7 separate regions of the Homo sapiens genome follow, and all the other regions are linked to region 1. The links are contacts of gene promoters, found by promoter capture Hi-C in blood cells and fetal thymus (Javierre and others, 2016). All regions are on one chromosome and are shown on one strand. The core of a region is centred on a gene start or on the middle of the fragment in contact, and the rest is flanking DNA. Distances in the headings are between cores, read along the strand shown.

What was found. Contacts are between HindIII fragments. The CHiCAGO score rates a contact against its expected background, and 5 or more counts as called.
Region 2: a contact is called between a fragment that was not itself captured here and the fragment with the promoter of CBLIF in region 1, in 1 of 17 cell types (erythroblasts). The highest score is 6.1, in erythroblasts.
Region 3: the fragment with the promoter of MS4A4E here is called in contact with the fragment with the promoter of CBLIF in region 1 in 13 of 17 cell types (erythroblasts, M2 macrophages, M0 macrophages and 10 more); the score reaches 22.6 in erythroblasts.
Region 4: a contact is called between a fragment that was not itself captured here and the fragment with the promoter of CBLIF in region 1, in 1 of 17 cell types (naive B cells). The highest score is 5.3, in naive B cells.
Region 5: a fragment that was not itself captured here is called in contact with the fragment with the promoter of CBLIF in region 1 in 1 of 17 cell types (erythroblasts); the score reaches 5.9 in erythroblasts.
Region 6: a fragment that was not itself captured here is called in contact with the fragment with the promoter of CBLIF in region 1 in 1 of 17 cell types (erythroblasts); the score reaches 6.4 in erythroblasts.
Region 7: a contact is called between a fragment that was not itself captured here and the fragment with the promoter of CBLIF in region 1, in 4 of 17 cell types (M0 macrophages, M1 macrophages, M2 macrophages and 1 more). The highest score is 9.4, in M0 macrophages.

The regions. Positions count from the first base shown.
Region 1 is chr11:59,844,233-59,846,764 of GRCh38, forward strand. CBLIF (cobalamin binding intrinsic factor) reads right to left here and starts at 1,267. Exons shown (of 9, transcript NM_005142.3): 1 at 1,143-1,267. The coding sequence starts at 1,221. The HindIII fragment of the contact is 3,325 bases long and covers 1-1,906 here.
Region 2 is chr11:60,263,443-60,265,974 of GRCh38, forward strand. No RefSeq gene overlaps it. Among named protein-coding and RNA genes, the nearest start is that of MS4A4A, 16 kb to the right of the region's middle. The HindIII fragment of the contact is 648 bases long and covers 943-1,590 here.
Region 3 is chr11:60,241,866-60,244,397 of GRCh38, forward strand. MS4A4E (membrane spanning 4-domains A4E) reads right to left here and starts at 1,272. Exons shown (of 9, transcript NM_001393391.1): 1 at 1,093-1,272. The HindIII fragment of the contact is 3,157 bases long and covers 451-2,532 here.
Region 4 is chr11:60,225,551-60,228,082 of GRCh38, forward strand. All of the region lies in intron 3 of MS4A4E (membrane spanning 4-domains A4E), which reads right to left. Among named protein-coding and RNA genes, the nearest start is that of MS4A4E, 16 kb to the right of the region's middle. The HindIII fragment of the contact is 243 bases long and covers 1,154-1,396 here.
Region 5 is chr11:60,182,435-60,184,966 of GRCh38, forward strand. It overlaps MS4A6A (membrane spanning 4-domains A6A), which reads right to left and starts at 649. Exons shown (of 6, transcript NM_022349.4): 1 at 544-649. The HindIII fragment of the contact is 600 bases long and covers 983-1,582 here.
Region 6 is chr11:60,165,205-60,167,736 of GRCh38, forward strand. No RefSeq gene overlaps it. Among named protein-coding and RNA genes, the nearest start is that of LINC02705, 2.1 kb to the left of the region's middle. The HindIII fragment of the contact is 291 bases long and covers 1,118-1,408 here.
Region 7 is chr11:60,145,319-60,147,850 of GRCh38, forward strand. No RefSeq gene overlaps it. Among named protein-coding and RNA genes, the nearest start is that of LINC02705, 18 kb to the right of the region's middle. The HindIII fragment of the contact is 1,328 bases long and covers 610-1,937 here.

The sequences.
Region 1 (2,532 bases), core at 17-2,516:
GTTCAAGTGATTCTCCTGCCTCAGCTTCCTGAGTAGCTGGGATTACAGGTGTGCACCACCACGCCAGGCTAATTTTTGTATTTTTAGTAGAGATGGGGTTTCACCATGTTGGCCAGGGTAGTCTCGAATTTCTGACCTCAGGTAATCCACCCTTCTTGGCCTCCCAAAGTGCTGGGATTACAGGCGTGAGCCACCTCGCCTGGCCATCTTTGATGCCTTTTAGGAGAACACTTGATTAGCATTAGTGTCCTAAGTCACTAAAGAGAAATGGAGAAAATGGTGAGATTTTACTTTTGAGGACAATTAGTTTCTACATCTTCTCAAATAATCCATATCCTTAAGAAAGTGATTTTTAAATTTAGTAACTTCAAGCAATATGGCTCATGACATTTCTCATAGTTTCTATCACTTTCCTGGAAATCACTGATTTCCTTGCATTCATTTTTTTCCTTACTCTTTCATGAAGAGTATTAAAGATTTGGGATATAATTTATCCTCAGTGAGTACCAAAATCTCTCACTAGTATGTAGTGGTGTCTGGTCACAATAGCCACTGAGTGTCTGTCTTTGTACCATCAACCATTATTCCTGCAGTAGTACTTCCATCTCTATTATTTTTATTTATTGATTTTTTGAGACAGGGTGCTGCTGTGTCATCTAGGCTGGAGTGCAGTGGTGTGATTATAGCTCACTGCAGCCTCGACCTCCTGGGCTCAAGCGATTCTCCTACCTCAGCTTTCTGAGTAGCTGGGACCACAGGTGCATGCCACTGCGCCCAGCTAATTTTTTATTTTTATTTATTTATTTTTTTTGTAGAGATGGAGTCTCACCATGTTGCCCAGGCTGGTCTTGAACTCTTGGGCTCAAGCAATCCTCCTGCTTCAGTCTCCCAAAGTGCTGGGATTACAGGTGTGAGCCACTGCACCTGGCCCCATCTCTCTTAATAAAAAACATATAGACTTGTCTCTCAAAGAACTTATGCTATTAAGTCAGGAAGGATGAACAGCACACAATCACACTCAGACTTACCCATTTTGGAATTCCTATAGTGATTGCTATTTTCAACCACTCAGTGTCAGAGGTCACAGCCCCTTCCCCAGGGCAACTGCTTCCCTGACCTCCTTGGAAAAACATCATACTCACAGCATGAACTCTGGGTCTGGGTACTAGTCCCAGCTGTAGCCCAGAGAAGGCTCAGGAGGTAGAGGGCAAACCAGGCCATCTCACTCTCTCGTCTATGTCTCTCATCCACAGGTACCGCGATTTGCAAGTGGAATATTTCTTTACCTTCTCTTATATGTGCTTCCCTTTGTTAAATAATCTGTCCCCAACCCAGCCTCTCCTAACTGCCCCTGTGCTGACCTCTCCTTTCCTGATACAAGTAAGTAAATTTTCATTTGCTTATCTAAGTTTACCGACTATAGACCCTCCAAGGTGTCTGAAGGTGACTTCTAGGTTGCACAGTCATATGAGAAACCTGGGGCTGGGTATGCAGTGAAGGCAATGTTGAGAAAATGTCCTTTACCAAAGGCCTGGGTCAGACATCAGGAAGTTTGGATAATGTGCTAGTATCAACAAGACCTCTTCTAGCCCTTATTGTATCCAATCAGTTACCAGGCTGCTTTTTAGTAACTACTTCACTGGGATTTAGGCCATTCATAGGCATCAGCTCATTTTATGATCCTAGACACCTGCTTTACAACATGTCCTTTTAGGCTCTCAGGCAGGGATCTGCCAGGTGACATCTGGCTTTGTGAAATTAATGATGTCTACCTGGACCTGGATTCTAGCCTAGACTCTTTGAAGTTGTTTGACTTTAGGCAAGAAATGGACCTCGGTTTCCCAGAAATGGTTTTGTTTGATTTCTCTTTCCTTATCTGGAGATAAAAGCCATCTCAAACACCCAAAGCTTTCAGATATTATCTTTTAAAGTAAGTAATTAGAAAATGTGAGATCCATTAAGAATACATATTTCAGATGTGTAGCTACATTATAATGCAAATTATACTTCTTTATAAGGGAGAACTGAAAATGGTATGTTGAAATTATAAAGAAAGGAGTTTTGTTTGTTTTTTTCCTGCATGTAAAGTAGCTCATTTTAAGGGGATATTCTCCAGTGGCGCCCATCTTAGCATAAAAGTCAAAGCCCTTTTCATGACCTATAAGACCTTAGAAGATCTGGCTCCTGGTTTCCTTTCTGACCTCAGCTCCAGGCGTTTTCCCCTTTGCTCACACCGCTCCCATCACACAGAACTTCTTGTGCCCCTTGAACACATCAGCTACCTTTGCACATGATGTCCCCCTCAGCCCAGGACCCTCTTCTTTTAAATAGCCTCATGGTGGCTTCCTCACATCCTTCATGTCTCTGCTCAGAGGTAAGCTTTTAGAGACGCCTTCCCAGGCCACCCTACATAAGATCCTACATCCTCACCTCCACTGACACCCCTCATGCCCCTCGCCTGCTATAACTCATTGCCCTCTGTCGCACTAAGTGTGTGGTTGTTTATCGTTTGTTTATCTCCCTACTAGAATG
Region 2 (2,532 bases), core at 17-2,516, 420 kb after region 1:
GAAAAGTGATGTGTTTTGAAATGCAAAAAGAAAAAAAAAGTGGTTGGTGGAGAAAAGCTCTGAGAGCACCACAAGAGGAACAGTTAAGATATGAAAGTCCCTGGAAAAGAGGAAGCTGGGACAGGACATGCAACATTGCACTTTTCACAGGATCAGCACCAAGAGCTTGGAGTTCAAGTTCCCAGGTACTTTAGTTCAGTAAGACTATGTGATAGCTGTTATGCGGTCATCTGGGGGCTGGTGGTGAAACTCAAGCCCTGCCGTCTTCTTATTGTGTTTAGTCGGAATGTACAACAATTATGCCCATGAGGCAATTTCATGGCATGGCATTGGTATATTTGCTTCAGGGCTAGAGTGACAGTCAAGTGAGGAAGACTGAAGCCGAAGACTGAACATCAGAGTTATACATCTTGACATCCTTTGTCCTTACTTGTATTTTAAAAACCCAGGCCCAGATAACTCCAACACTCGGTTTCTCCTATATCTGACATTTGGAACCTTGTATTATTAGTTCAGAAGAAGTACTGAAGAGGCCTCAGTGCACAGGCTCGGGACTGATCCTGTAACAAAGGTGATCAGATGACACCCAGGCCCAGCTGGTCTCAGCCAAATGGCTCAGGGTTGACCCTAAATATGGAAAACCAGAGAATCAGGACTATGGCTGCCTACCATGCCCTGAATAACCAGTTATATGGATTGTCATCTGGTAGAAATCCTATGCAGGGGGTGTTAATGTCATCCTTTGTGGAGTCTCTTGGTTGGATCTTCAACCACTTAATATTTTCATCAAGAATTTAGTTGCTGATCCTATTTGCAAATGATCCAAAAACAAGAAGTATAATTTATAAAACGAGAGTGTCCAGATTGAAGATACAACCCAAAAGTCTGGAACATGAGCGTTGGAATACAGATCAAATTTAATCAGGTAAAATTAAAGTCCCAAGCTTATGTTTAAAAACAAATCACCTGCACAAACCTGAGATGGGACTAGAACTTGCTTAACAGAAGTTAATGTGAGAAAGGCCTGGGCCCTTCTACTAGTTAGCTGAAAGGATGGAGACAGAAGCAAAAGACTCTCCAAGAAGTCTGCCTTTGCCTCTAGAGCAATGGATCTCAATCTTGTCTGAGCATTGGGATAACTTGGGAAACTTTAACACGTACTAACACATGAGCCCCATTACCAGGTATTCTGATTTAATTAATATGGATTATGGTTGGAGAGTCAAAATTTTTTGTAGCTCTTTAGCGGATTCTACCGTATAGTCAATGTTGCCAATTACTGCTATAAGCCTGTAGATATCAAACTTGAGTGTGTATCAAAATCTGGAGGGCTTCTTAAAACACAGAATGCACACCGAGACTGTCTGATTCAATAGGTCTGGGGTAGGGTATTTGCATGTCAACCACAATGTCAGGTGATACTGATGCTACTACTCTGGGAACCACATTTTAAGAGCTACTGCTCTAGACGAACCTGGAGTTCTCCAGATGCAACTAAAGGCTTTTTAAATTCTACCGCTGGTATTGAGCCAGAATGCATAGAACCTGGCCCTGTGCCTATCTTCTCTTCTGAGTAGGATTTATTCCATAAGCTTTGGCCTTCTCTTTACATCTTCATATCTGTGTCTGGAGGGTAGGGCCAAGTTGGACTTCGGGATACTAAACTGAGGCCTTTTATTGTAAGGACAGAGAGTAGGATGTGATGTCTTGATGCTGCTTCAGGTTACTAGAGGAGACAATGATCTCAGTTCAGAACCAAGCTTAAAGTTATATATCTCTCGGGGACTATTTGTCCCAGGAATGCAAGCTAGGATTTACTTTTCAATCTTTCCCCAGTTTCTTTCCCAAAAGTAACATATCTTTGGGAAGAAATTAGGGTAAATGAGCAATGGTAAGCTCAAATCCTGGCATCAGGAAAATTCTCCTAGCACTCATGGTATGGCCTGTTCACCACTGACCACAAAGACATGTAGAAGGTGGTGCACAATTTTCAGGAGTCCAGAAATACAAACAGTTCTCTTAATACTTGCTCTGTAGTCTCAATTGTTGTCATCTCTTTCCACACACACATGCATGCACACACACGCACACACATGCACACAGGCAGTTCTTACAATATTGAGATGCTTTGCTTAGACTGGGCTGTATATAAGAGACCTGATTTACATCTTATAAAAATAGAACATCAGAGTTAGAAGAGACGTGGAAATCTTTCTACACTGAAATATGAGAAGTCTGTGGCCCAGGGAAAGAAAGTGATTCACGTGAGTCATGAAGGTAATGAATGTATAACCCAGTTTTTCTGTTTTTCCTATTATCCCCTTCATTTTGACATTGAGGTGTCATATTTAATTGAGCCACAAGAGGGAGGCAGTGGACAAGAAATTGTCCTACCTAATTTGAATTCCTACCTAATCTGGTGTCTTCTGGGAAGACCTTATGAAAAGTCAACTCCCAGCTCTGGTCTTGTATACTAGCGCTGGGTTGGGTCCCATTTCTATCCCATATTCTCTGGGAATCTAGTAGATACAG
Region 3 (2,532 bases), core at 22-2,521, 400 kb after region 1:
GCCCCTCCTCCCCACCCCGGATAAAGAGGTGGGGTAACCTAGACCACCCTTCCCTCTTCTATTGGCCCCAGTCTCCTTGTGGATCAGCAGCACCAGCAGTCTCTTGTTTCCTCATTTTTATGTCACCATCCCCCTTATGGGTCACAACACAAGAGAGCATGAGGAGAGTGGTATACACGGTCATCCCCTTTTTCTTGGCAGAGTTATCAAATAGACTAGAAACCCAAAATGAGGCCTGAATCTGGATGGTTTTTAGGAGGATGATGGGGATGCAGAAATGGTGGCATGGGAAGGGAAAAGGGGGAAAGGCCTGGGCTAGGAACCAAGAATTCTGGGTTTTTTGCTCCTAGCCCTTTTGTTAACTTGTGTGATTCTAGGTACATTATTTCCCTTTTCTGGATTTCATTTACTTCATCTGGGGAAAGATTACAATGACTACGACTACTTACAAGCTTCTTTCTTATCCTAAGAATGCTAAAAGTCTACAAGATGTTTTTCATTTGCAGATTTTATCATGAGCAGCCTCAGTTTACTGCCTGGGTGCCACATGAATAGTGCCAAAGACCACTGGAGAACTACGTCAGGCCACAGCCCATCTAAATGTACAAGGCTGGGGACCCTGCCTGTGCCCTACTCCATGTACACCAAATTCTGCACGTGCTAGATCTTTTCTTAAGTCTTGAATTATAAAAATAACCAGTCAGAGACAAAGAATAAAGACCATGGAAGAAGTGCATTAACAGTAGATGAGGTAATTAATCAAAGTTTAAAATGTTGCTTACAGTGTTTTGGTATCCTGAGAACTTACGGAACAAAAGTAACTAAAACAACTTCATCCAGCCTCCAGTGTCAGCCTTTAGGAGGCTTTTCTAACTCCCATCAACTGTAGCGAAGACTGTTCCTCAACCACCCACAACCCTCACCAAATGCATATTTAAATGTGCACTCAATCCACCCCAACCCTGACTACCAGCTTGGGTCATGGGAAGTGACCTCATTTTTTTTTCTCACTCCACTCCCAGAAATCCTAAACCCAGGAAATGAAACAAACTATCAGTCCGAGAGCCTAGGAAGGCAAGTCCCTGGACCTACCTTTCTTCAGGCCTGCAATGTCTGCTGCAGGTCTGATGAGTGCAGGGCTCTGGGCAAGTTCCTCAAAGTTCTTTGTTCCAGACACAGTCAGCTTCCCCCACTCCACACCTCACTCAGTTTAAATCTGCACTCCTTTTCTAGTAGATGTTTGGAACCTTAAAGGATGTGTTGAGAACTTCTGAGACACACAACTAGTTCCTCTTTTTTATCGGAAGCATTAACTGATTTTGCGTTCCCAATATGGGTGTGGACGTTTATTTTGAAATTTGCTGAAAAAGCAGTGGCTGCCTGATACAGTCTTTCCTATGAAAATAATAGTGCTAATTACTGTGGGTATCAGTGGTGGAGGATTTTCTGTTTGCCAGACTCTGCTCAAAGATTGTTATATACACAACTAAGTAAATGGTAATTTATAAATGCCCCCTTTCACAATTTCACACATTTCCACAGTACTCTTCTTCCCAGAGAACTACTGTTACTATTGTATTAGGTTGGTGAAAAAGTAATTGTGCCTTAATATACACAACTTAAATATCTTATTTTCATGATATTTCACCTTTGGAGGTTCAACATGAATAGCCACAAAATGGGAACAAGTTGGTTGTACAGCAATAATTAATACAACACCTTTCTAAGTCAAAGAAGCAGCTGGTATCATAGAACAAGCTGGTCTTTGACTAAGACAAACCCAATGGCAATCATTTCTTGTATGACCTTGTTAATCCCCTGAACCTGATTCATTGGTAAAATAAAATAATGCCTTCTTTACATGGAGGAAAGCAAAGTGGCATGCAATTTTCATTCACTCAGCATTTTCTTAGAGAAAAGCTACTATAAGCCAAGCAGTGTGCCATGTGCTTCAGATAAAATGGTGAAAAATGATTTTCGCTCAAGGATTTTATAGGCTACTTGACAATATAGACAAGTAAATAAATCACCCATTATAATCAGTTACCTGCAAGGTAAAGTGGCAATGCTGATGAATAAATAAATCATTACAACCCATTATAATCAGTGATCTGCAAGGTAAAATTGGATATCCTGAGAGAGCTCATAGGAGGATCAAAGAACTCAACGTTGGGTAGGTAGGCAGAGGAGACTTCCTAGATAAAGGGACATCTAATTGGAGACCTGATGAATAAGCAAAAGACACACAAATGGAAGAAGGATGGAGCTAGGTAACATTATTATTCCCATTTTCCAGAAGATGGAACTGAAACTCAGAGATATTCATATAGCTGGTATAGATGAGATTGAAATCCAGTTTTGCCTAATCCCAAAAACTTTGTTGTCTATAATCTGAAATTATTTTAATTCTCAGAATTAAATGGGTTATATTTCAGAAATATTGTCCTGGTTTTCATGTAAAGCAACAATAGGAATAAATAATACTGAAATCAGGGAGTTAGGGTTAAGAAAGAGGCAGTTCTCTAGGGAAGG
Region 4 (2,532 bases), core at 25-2,524, 380 kb after region 1:
AAACAGCGTTCTTAAAATAGGAGCTGGAGTACAATTATCTCATGGCATTATAAATGGGTCAAAAAATTAAAACAACTTATCAAAATTTATGGGATGTAGTGAAAGCAGTGCTTAGAAAAAATTTATAACATTGAATGAATATATTAGAAAATAATGATCAAAATCAATCACCTGAGAGTCTACCTTAAGAAACTGGAAAAAGAAAAGCAAATTAAACTCCAAGTAAGCGGAAGAAAAAAAAGTAATAGAAATTAGAGCAGAAATCATAAAATTAAAAACAGAAAATTAATAGACAAACTCAATGAAATCCAATGCTTTTTTTTAAAAAAAAGAAAAATACATAAATAAAATCAATAAGCCTTTAGCCAGTCTAAGAGAAAGAGAGAGAGGACACAGATTACTCATAAGTGAAAGGGGGAATATCACTACAGTTCCCATAGTAATTAAAAGGATAATAAAATAACTCTACGAACAATTCTGTGCCCACAATTTGATAACCTTGAGCCAATGAATTGCTCCTTAAAGACAATTTGTCAAAATTCACACAAGAAGAAATAGGCACTCTGAATAAGCCTATAATTATTAAATAAATAAAATAAATAATTAATTAATTTTCAAAACAGAAAGCACCAGGCCTGGAAAGGTTTGGAATTCTACCAAACACTTGAAAATGAAATTATACCAATTCTTTACAGAAAACAGAAAAAGAGGAAATACTCCCTAACTCATTCTATGGAGCTAGCACTATTATCTACCAAAAAAAAAAGTCAAAAACATTACAAGAAAAGAAAACTGCAGACCAACATCTCTGGTGAACAAAGATGCAAAAATTCCCAACAAAACATGTGCAAACTAAATCTAATAGTGTATCAAAAGAATTATATACCATAACCATATGGGATTTATCCCAGATATGCAAGGCTGACTAGACATTCAAAAATCAATGAATGTAACTAATGACATCAACAGGCTAAAAGGAAGAAAAATCACATGATTATATCAACAGATGCAGGAAAAATATTGAGCAAAATCCAATGCCTGTTTATTATAAAAACTTTTGAAAAACTATTAATAGAGGATAACTTGTTTAGGTTGATAAAGAATATTTATTAATAAAACTACAGCTAACTTCATACTTAATGGAGAAATTCAAAGCTTTCTCACTAAGATCAGGACCAAGGCAGGGATAAGCCTGTCACTACTCCTTTTACCATTTACTGGAAGTCATAGCTGAAATGGTAAGACAAGAAAAGGAAATAAAGGTATACAATTGGTAAGGAAAAAAATAAAACTGCTTTTATTCACAGATGACGTGATTGTCTGTGTAGAATATCTGAAAGAATCAACCAAAAACTCCTGGAATTAACAAATGATTATATTAAGGTTGTAGGATACAAGCTTAATACACAAGAGTCAATTACTTTCTTATGTACTTATAGTAAATAAGTGAAATTTGAAATTAAAAATGCAATACTATTTAAATTAGCAACCCTAAAAATTAAATATTTAGGTATTGGTATTTGGTGTTTGTTAGGCATAAATCTAACAAACTATGTACAAAATCTATAAGAGAAACTTAAAAAAAAATAAGTCGAATAACTAAATAAATGGAGAGATATTCCATGTCCATGGATAGGAAGACTCAACATTGTCAAGACATCAGTTCTTCCCAATTTAATCTGTAGATTTAATGCAATCTCCCTCAAAATATTAGCAAATGGCCGGGCGTGGTGGCTCACCCCTGTAATCCCAGCACTTTGGGAGGCCGAAGCGGGCGGATCACGAGGTCAGGAGATTGAGACCATCCTGGCTAACATGGTGAAACCCCATCTCTACTAAAAATACAAAAAGTTAGCCAGGCATAGTGGCAGGCGCCTGTAGTCCCAGCTACTCCAGAGGCTGAGGCAGGAGAATGGTGTGAACCCGGGAGGCAGAGCTTGCAGTGAGCTGAGATTGGGCCACTGCACTCCAGCCTGGGTGACAGCGCCAGACTCCATCTCAAAATATATATATATATATTAGCAAATTATTTGTGTATATTGATAAACTGACTCTAAAGTTTATAGGGAAAGGCAAAAGACTTAGAATAACAAAAACAATCTTGAAGAAGAAGGAGTTTTAGGAGTAACACTACCCATCTTTAGGACAAACTATAAAGTGATAGTAATCAGGACTGTGTGATATTGGCAAAGAAATAGACAAATAGATCAAGGGAATAGAATAGAAAGCCTAGAAATAGACACAGAAGTATAGTCAAGTGATCTTTGATAAAGAACTAAGATAATACAATTAGAAGAATAGTCTTTCCAAAAAAAAAATACTACTTAAAAAACTGGACCTCCATAGGCAAAAATTGAACTTAGACACATACCTTGTATCCTTCACAAAAATTAACTCAAAATAAATCACAGACCCAAATGTTGAACTCAAAACTCTGAAACTCTTAACAGATGACATAGGCCAAAATCTAGATGACCTTGGTTTTGGTGATGAGTTTGTCAATACAATACCAAAGGCACAACCCATGAAATA
Region 5 (2,532 bases), core at 33-2,532, 340 kb after region 1:
TCCTGGAGTCTGAAGCCTTTGCATAAATCTCTAGATCATTCTACCTCTTCCTAATTTCCCACCTGGCATTGCCAGCCTGTGTCTGAGTTTACTCAGGCTGGAGAAACAGCTGCATGCAGTGGTATGAGAACAAGTCTTGGACTCATAACACATAGGCTCGCGTCGTTGGTCCTCCCCACTTTTTAGCATAAAGACCAAGTAGGTTGTGGTATTTGTTGCTAAGCTCAGCTTGGATCCCTTTTCACGGCACCATTCTCAAAGCACAGACCGCCCAGTTTACAAATGGTCTAAACACATTTGAAGAGACAAGAGCTCTGCTCCCATTAATTACACAACCTTAGGTAAGTGACTCACTGAGTTTATGCAATTAGAATACAGCGGACACAGAGTTAAAAACAGATACTCCTTCCATTTGCCCACTCTATTTCCAAAAGGCCCTAGTGTCTCTTAACTGCTGTCAAGGAGTTTCAAGTTAAATTACTCCTCTAATGAGGTCACGGCAAGGGAATAGTGAGATGAGAAAAGTCTTCCAGCATTACCTACCTGTGCCCGTTGGTTCCAGCTGAGTCCTCAGAAGCTCCAAAGAGGTTTTAACTCTGGTTTCTCAGTCCCATCAACGGTTTCTACTTACCTTCATCTTCTGAAAGTCATCAGCCCTTCCTTATTCCAGTGTTTACAGCTATACAGGATGTGATACTCACAGATTGTAGATTTGTGAAATGTTCCTGCACTTCCTTTTCTGTAAACTTCTAGCAACTTCAGTAAAACCATGAAAAGAGCCAACTAATATTTGTGAGAGTTCAGGAGTCATGGAGCCTTATGTGTGAATTGCCACTTCGAGACATACAAGTTTCCTGTTGTTAGGCAAGTCTGTTCTTGAAGCTTCAGTTTTCTAATCTGTTAAATAGAGGAGCAATACCAACACTGGAGAATTGTCATAAAGATGAGCAAAAATATTTATAAAAAGCCTATGCTGCTTTGAAGCTTTCAATAACATGTAACTAATAACAGTAATAGTGCTAGTAATCATAATATAGAGAAAGAACAATATTCCACTGTCTATAACTAACCATAATAATAATAATAGCAATAATGACTACACTGCTTTAAAGGAACATTCATTAATATATAGCTAATAGTAATATAGAACATAAAAAAACTTTTAAAAAATTGTTTTTTATATATATAGTTTGTTTGTTTGTTTTGTTTTATCTTGCTTTTCTAATTCCCCAAGTCTTGGCAGGCTGAAAGCAACCTTTCAATACTGATTGCCCAACTGCTGCCTACCCTCAAGTCATCTTCCTCCTCTGGCTGCTCTTTTTCTCTAACAACAGATCTTTGCCCTCCAGAAAGGTTGGGCCCCTCCAGGGAAGCATTGAAATATTGAAACAGAGAAGGAACAAATGGGAAAGATTCAGCAGGACCTAAATGAATTCAGTAAACTCATATGCAGGCTGGTTTTGTGAGGACAGAGGCACTGTGCCCCTTCAAAACCTTGGGTGGCATTCTTTGGAAGCTGACTTCAATGTATCAGGCAAGGAAACCAGAGCCAGTCAGGGCAATGGCAAAGCCCCACCCTGCAAGCTTCCTTCCTCCTTTCCTTGGGGGAGCTTCCAGAATGAACCCAGAAACACAACCTGAACCATCACCGTCACCACAGAGGGCCATGGATTCTGCACTTAATTCCACACATTAACTCTCCTGTTGAAGAAAGGAGTTAAGAAGCACCATTTAGAAGGCTGGATTAGTTCTCAGCGTCTGAATGACACAGACATTATGAAATGTAATTGGCTTGTCTTAAGTTCTAACAATAAATCTGAGAGGAGGAATGGACTCACACAGAAAGCCTGGGGAGAGGGGCAGAATCACCTCCAACCTTGCTCACCCAAGCTCCTGGCGCCCCTTCCTCTTTCGCAGAGTGCCGTCTGTGTTTCCAGTGGGTGCCCTGCATCTTTGTCACCCTCACAGCATCTGTGAAACAGTGGAATGCAGCTCTCCTCCTGAGCTTTGATTAAAAAGGAGCCCAGTCTCTTTGGTCTCTTCAGGAGCAATCACACCCCCTTTCCCTTCAGGGGAATGTGCTAATAAACCAGTTAAAGTTGCCTACCTAAGCAAAGGCTCCCTCTCCAGTCAGTTTTCCTCTCTGTGCTATTTAATTTAAAATCATTTCTGAGTTTTAAGGATTATGTGAGACAACACGTGTAAGGTTCCTAGCACAGAACCCTTCGGAATGATGGCCTAAAAGCGGTCTGTTGACTGTCTTCCTCACCCCCCAATCCTCCCCCCTCTTTTTTTTTCCATTTTGGCTTTAGTAAGCTTAAAACAATTCTCCTTTCTCTTGTCTTTCAGCTTACACTCATTCAGCCTTTTACATTCCCAGTTTTTTCCAGAGTCTGAATTCTACCAACCTAACTACAAGGGAGAAGACTGGTATATCAATAACACGTTCTGATTAATGATCTGGGACAGGTTTCTCAAAAAAGCTACTAATGCCACTTTGGACTGGGTAATTCTTTACAGTAGGTGGCTATC
Region 6 (2,532 bases), core at 13-2,512, 320 kb after region 1:
AATGAAAGCTTGTCCTTGGCAGCAACATGGATGGAACTGGAGGCCATTATCCTAAGCAAATGAACGGAAGAACAGAAAACCAAATACTGCATTGTTTTCACTAGCAAGTGGGAGCTAAATATTGAATACATATGAATGTAAAGATGGGAACAATAGACATTGAGGACCACTCACTCGATGGGGAAGGGAGGGAGAGGGGAACAGGTTGAAGAGCCCCTGTTGGGTACTATGCTTACTGCCTGGGTGATGGGATTTTTGGGACCTCAAGCCTCAGCATCATGTAATGTACCCATGTAACAAACCTGCACGTGTACTCTTTAATGTAATGCTGATGCTGATTATGCATTTGATTTCCCACCTTTCAACCCCACAACTTCTCAAGGAACCAGGAAACAGGGTACCATTTTAAAACTTCCAAATTTGTGAAAATAGAAATAAATTTATTACTTGAATTAAGTTCTTTTTCATCAGCTCATGTCACACCAAATCTTTCATGGGACAAAAAGAAACCCACGTTGGTTATGACTCATTGCCTCACCACATGTCTACTGACAATGAGCTCCCAGCCAGTGTCGGCCAGGACACAGTTGTTATTTTTCTTCTATTTTCTGCAATAACAACATCAAAAAAGGCAGTATGTTACCAAGAATAATAGTACCCAAAGTTATCCACATCCTACTCCCTGGAATCTGAGAGTATGCTATGATATCTGGCAAATGATTTTAAAAGTTACAGATAGAATCAAGTTTGCTAAGCAGTTGATCTTAACACAGAGTTTATCCTGGAGAATTATGGCAATTCTAATGTAATAATAAGAGTCCTTATAAGTGGAGAACCTTTCCCAGGTAAGTCTAAGAGAGAATTGAGGATAGAAGAATAGTCAGAGGTGCAACATGAGAAGGACATGATCTGCCACTGCCAGCCTTGAAAAAGCCCATGAGTCAATGAATGAGACAGCCTCAAGGAGCTAGAAAAGGCAAGGTCATGGATTTTTTTCCCTAGAAGCTCCAGAGAGGAAAGTAGTTCTGTAGATAACTTGATTTTTAGCCCAGTGAGACCAGTGTTGTATCCTGACCCACAGAACTCTAAGATAAAATTGTATTGTTTTAAGTCACAAAGCTTGTGGTAATTTGTTACAGGCACAATAGAAAACTAATATAAGCAGTGTGATAATGAGAAATTATAAATCACTCTCCCTCATATATATAGATGTAAGAAACTGAAAAATAAAAGTGGCAAATAGAATAGGAAGATGTATTTTTAAAGCATTTGGTCATGGCCAAATTGAACTCATTCCAGTTATTCATATATAATTTGACAATAGAAAATCTTCGAAAATCACTTACTGCAGAAACACATCAAATAAGAAAAAAAGACTTTGTTAATCTCAACAGAGGTATGCAGACAAAGCTTTTGATAAAAATCGATATATACAATTTTTTAAAGAAATTCATGGAGAAGTATGGCCATTTTAACAATATTGATTATTTCTATCCATGAGCATGAACTGTTTTTTCATTTGTTCATGTCGTCTCTGATTTCTTTCAGCAGTGTTTTGTAGTTCTTATTGTAAAGATCTTTCACCTACTTGGTTAGCTCTACTCTTGGTATGTTATGCTTTTTGTAGCATTGTAAATGAGATTGCATTCTTAATTTGGCTTTCAGCTTGAACATTATTGGTATATAGAAATGCTAGTAATGGTTCTACATTGATTTTGTATCTTGAAACTTTACTGAAGTTGTTAATGATTTCTAGGAGCCTTTTGCTGGAGTCTTTAGGATTTTATAAGTATAGAATCACGTTGTCTGTGAAGAGAGACAATTTGACTTCCTTCCTCTCTTTCTATTTGGATGCCTTTTATTTCTTTCTCTTGCCTGACTGCTCTGGCTAGAACTTCCAGTACTATGCTGAATAGAAGTGATGAGAATAATCATCCATGCCTTTTTCCAGTTCTCAGGGGGAATGCTGCCTGCTTTTGCCAGTTCAGTATGATGCTGGCTGTTGGCTGTGGGTTTGTCATAGATGGCTCTTATTATTTTGAGTTATGTTCCTTTGATGCCTAATTTGTTGAGGGATTTTTAACATGAAGGATGGTGAATTTTATCAAAAACCTTTTTCTGCATCTATTGAGATGTCATATGGTTTTTGCTTTTAATTCTGTTTATGTGGTGAATCATATTTATTGATTTGTATATGTTGAACCAATTTCACATCCCAGAAATAAACCCTACCAAAAATAATAAAATTAAACTTCTGAAAGCAATAAGAAAATGTATTTTAAATGTACAGTAAATAGTATAATTGGTATTGAGATATTAAATTTTTTAAATAATCAAGAACAGCCTGGGCGTGGTGGCTCACGCCTGTTATCCCAGCACTTTGGGAGGCTGAGATGGGCGGATCACGAGGTCAGGAGATTGAGACCATCCTGGCTAACACGGTGAAACCCCGTCTCTACTAAAAATACAAAAAATTAGCTGGGCGCAGTGGCAGATGCCTGTAGTCCCAGCTACTCGGGAGGCTGAGGAAGG
Region 7 (2,532 bases), core at 24-2,523, 300 kb after region 1:
TAATAAGTAAAAGGCCAGAATGAGCAGAGATGAAAACCATATTATAAGCAGATCTTGCTGTATTTCTTGGGGAGCAAATCTCAATTCCTGCCTAAGAGAATCAAATAAAGTCTATGAATAGGTAACTCCAGGATTACTAATTATTTCTTTGTCCAACTAGATGTTTTTATTCTTTTTAATCCTCCTAATTGATCATGGTATTTTGACTGTGAGTGTGGGAAAGTACAGACAACATGATTTCCCAAATAACAAGAAAGTGGTTCCAGAATTGTAGGAAAAATAATGTTAAATCATTAAAAATTTCCTGAGATTGTGCTAAGTATAACAAATGTCTGAGACTCTGGATTTTCTACCTCGATGAGAAAATAAGTGCATTTCCTTTTTGGGGAGAGAGTTGAACATTTGGGTGGCCAGAGAAAAGACTGTGTTAGGGCCAGAGAATGTGGATTGTCTAGCAATTTTTATTCTGATCTTGCTTCCTTGAATAGAGCTCCTGGTTTTAACCTAGACATACAACTGCTCAGTCAATAGCTAGATTTCGTCACCACTCATAACTGTGTGTGGTTATATGACAAAGATCTGTCCATATGATGCAGACATAAAGGAAAAAGCTTTAGTTACAACTTTCATACCTTAAAAGAAGCCACACAAGGAAGAAAGCAAAGCTATACTCCCGGGTACGGACTACCTACTCCTGAGCTGTTGCAGAACAGGAAAATCAAATGACAATTTCTTTAAATCACTTTGTATATAGTCCTAGTTCACAGCATGTTAAATGTACTGTATCACAGTAGTATAATTTATCTCTTTCTTTTTGTCACCCAAGGTGAAGTGCACTGTTCAATCAACACTTACTGTAATCTCAGTCTCCTGGGCTCAAACAGTTCTACCACCTCAGTCTCCCAAGTAGCTAGTACTACAGGCATGTGCCACACATCCGGCCAATGTTTTATTTTCTGTAGAGATGGGGTCTCACTCTGTTGCCCAGCTTTGTCTTGAACTCCTGGACTCAAGTAATCCTCTCACCTCAGCTTCCCAAAGTACTAAGATTACAGGCATGAACCACTACGCCAGGGCCAATTTATTTCTTCATTGGGCAATTGACTTTATATACTTTGAGTGTTTTGTTTTGTTTTGTTTTTTGAGACACAATTTCCTTCTGTCACCCAGGTTGGAGTGCAGTGGTATAATCTCAGCTCACTGCAAACTCCGCCTCCCAGGTTCAAGTGACTCTTGTGCCTCAGCCTCCTGAGCAGCTGCGATTACAGACGTGCACCGCCACGCCCAACTAATTTTTGTATTTATAGTAGAGATGGGGTTTCTCCATGTTGGTCAAGCTGGTCTCAAACTCCTGGCCTCATGTGATCTACCTGCCTCCGCCTCCCAAAGTGCTAGGATTACAGGTGTGAGCTACTGCGCCCAGCCTACTTTGAGTTTTTTTGAAGTGAATGGCCTACTTTCATATCCTTACCATGTGCACAGTGTATCAAACAAATAAGTGTTCAATAGATATTAAATCAACTAATGAATCAATTAACAAATAATATTGAATTACTTGGTGTTACCGTTGAGAGTTTCTGAGTATCCTAGGTGTTTATAAATGTAGGGCAAATATGACCAAAATACTGTTTGAGGAGTGGTCCTCAAAAACTATACACGAACAACAGCTGTGCCTTTCTTCCTCTTAACAAATATTTGAAAAATTATATGCAAGATTACTAAATAAAATAATCAATTGCATCCTCATTCTCTCAACTGTTACTCACCCAACTGATTTTACTGCCATCTGCAGTATAGGTGAGTGTGCAGAGAGCAAAAGTAATTGAAAGTTGCAAGCAGTTTAGCATCATCAGTACAATCACAAGGCCCCGTTAAAGAGAACAGAATTCCGTTGGCTGGGATTCCACCTCATGGTCGTATCAAGACTTGTATCCTAAAGCTTCATCTCAGGCCTTTGGAGTCCCCTCCACTTTGCATTAAACAAAATGATGACACGAGTTTGAATCTCAATTCAAAAATATATGTTCTGCTTTTGAAGAAGAAGTGGATTTCAAAAAAATAAAACAAAACACCAACACAAAACAAAACAAAGCAAACAATAACAACAAAAAGCCAGCGTTACTTTGAATTTTAACGCAACAGTGCCTGTATTAAAAAATAGTCTCGGTAACTTTCCAGTATTCCCAACGATCATTTTGCTGAGGGCTTTCAGAGGTTGGAGGGTGGGAGCAGGGAGAGGATCAGGAAAAATAACTAATGGGTACTAGGCTTAATACCTGGGTGATGAAATAGTCTGTACAGCACGTTCCAATGCCACAAGTTTATCTATATAAGAAACCTGCACTTGTACCCATGAACTTAAAATAAAAGTTAAAGAAAAAGGCCCGAAGACAGTCCAATGGATAAGGGTCTAGGGAGAAAGTTCAAAAGTTCCTGATTAATAAACACTTTCATGTGCAAAAAAAAAAAATAGGATCTCTTCTCAGACGTCAGAAAAAAATGCAGTATCTGCACATTTTTTCAACGGATAGG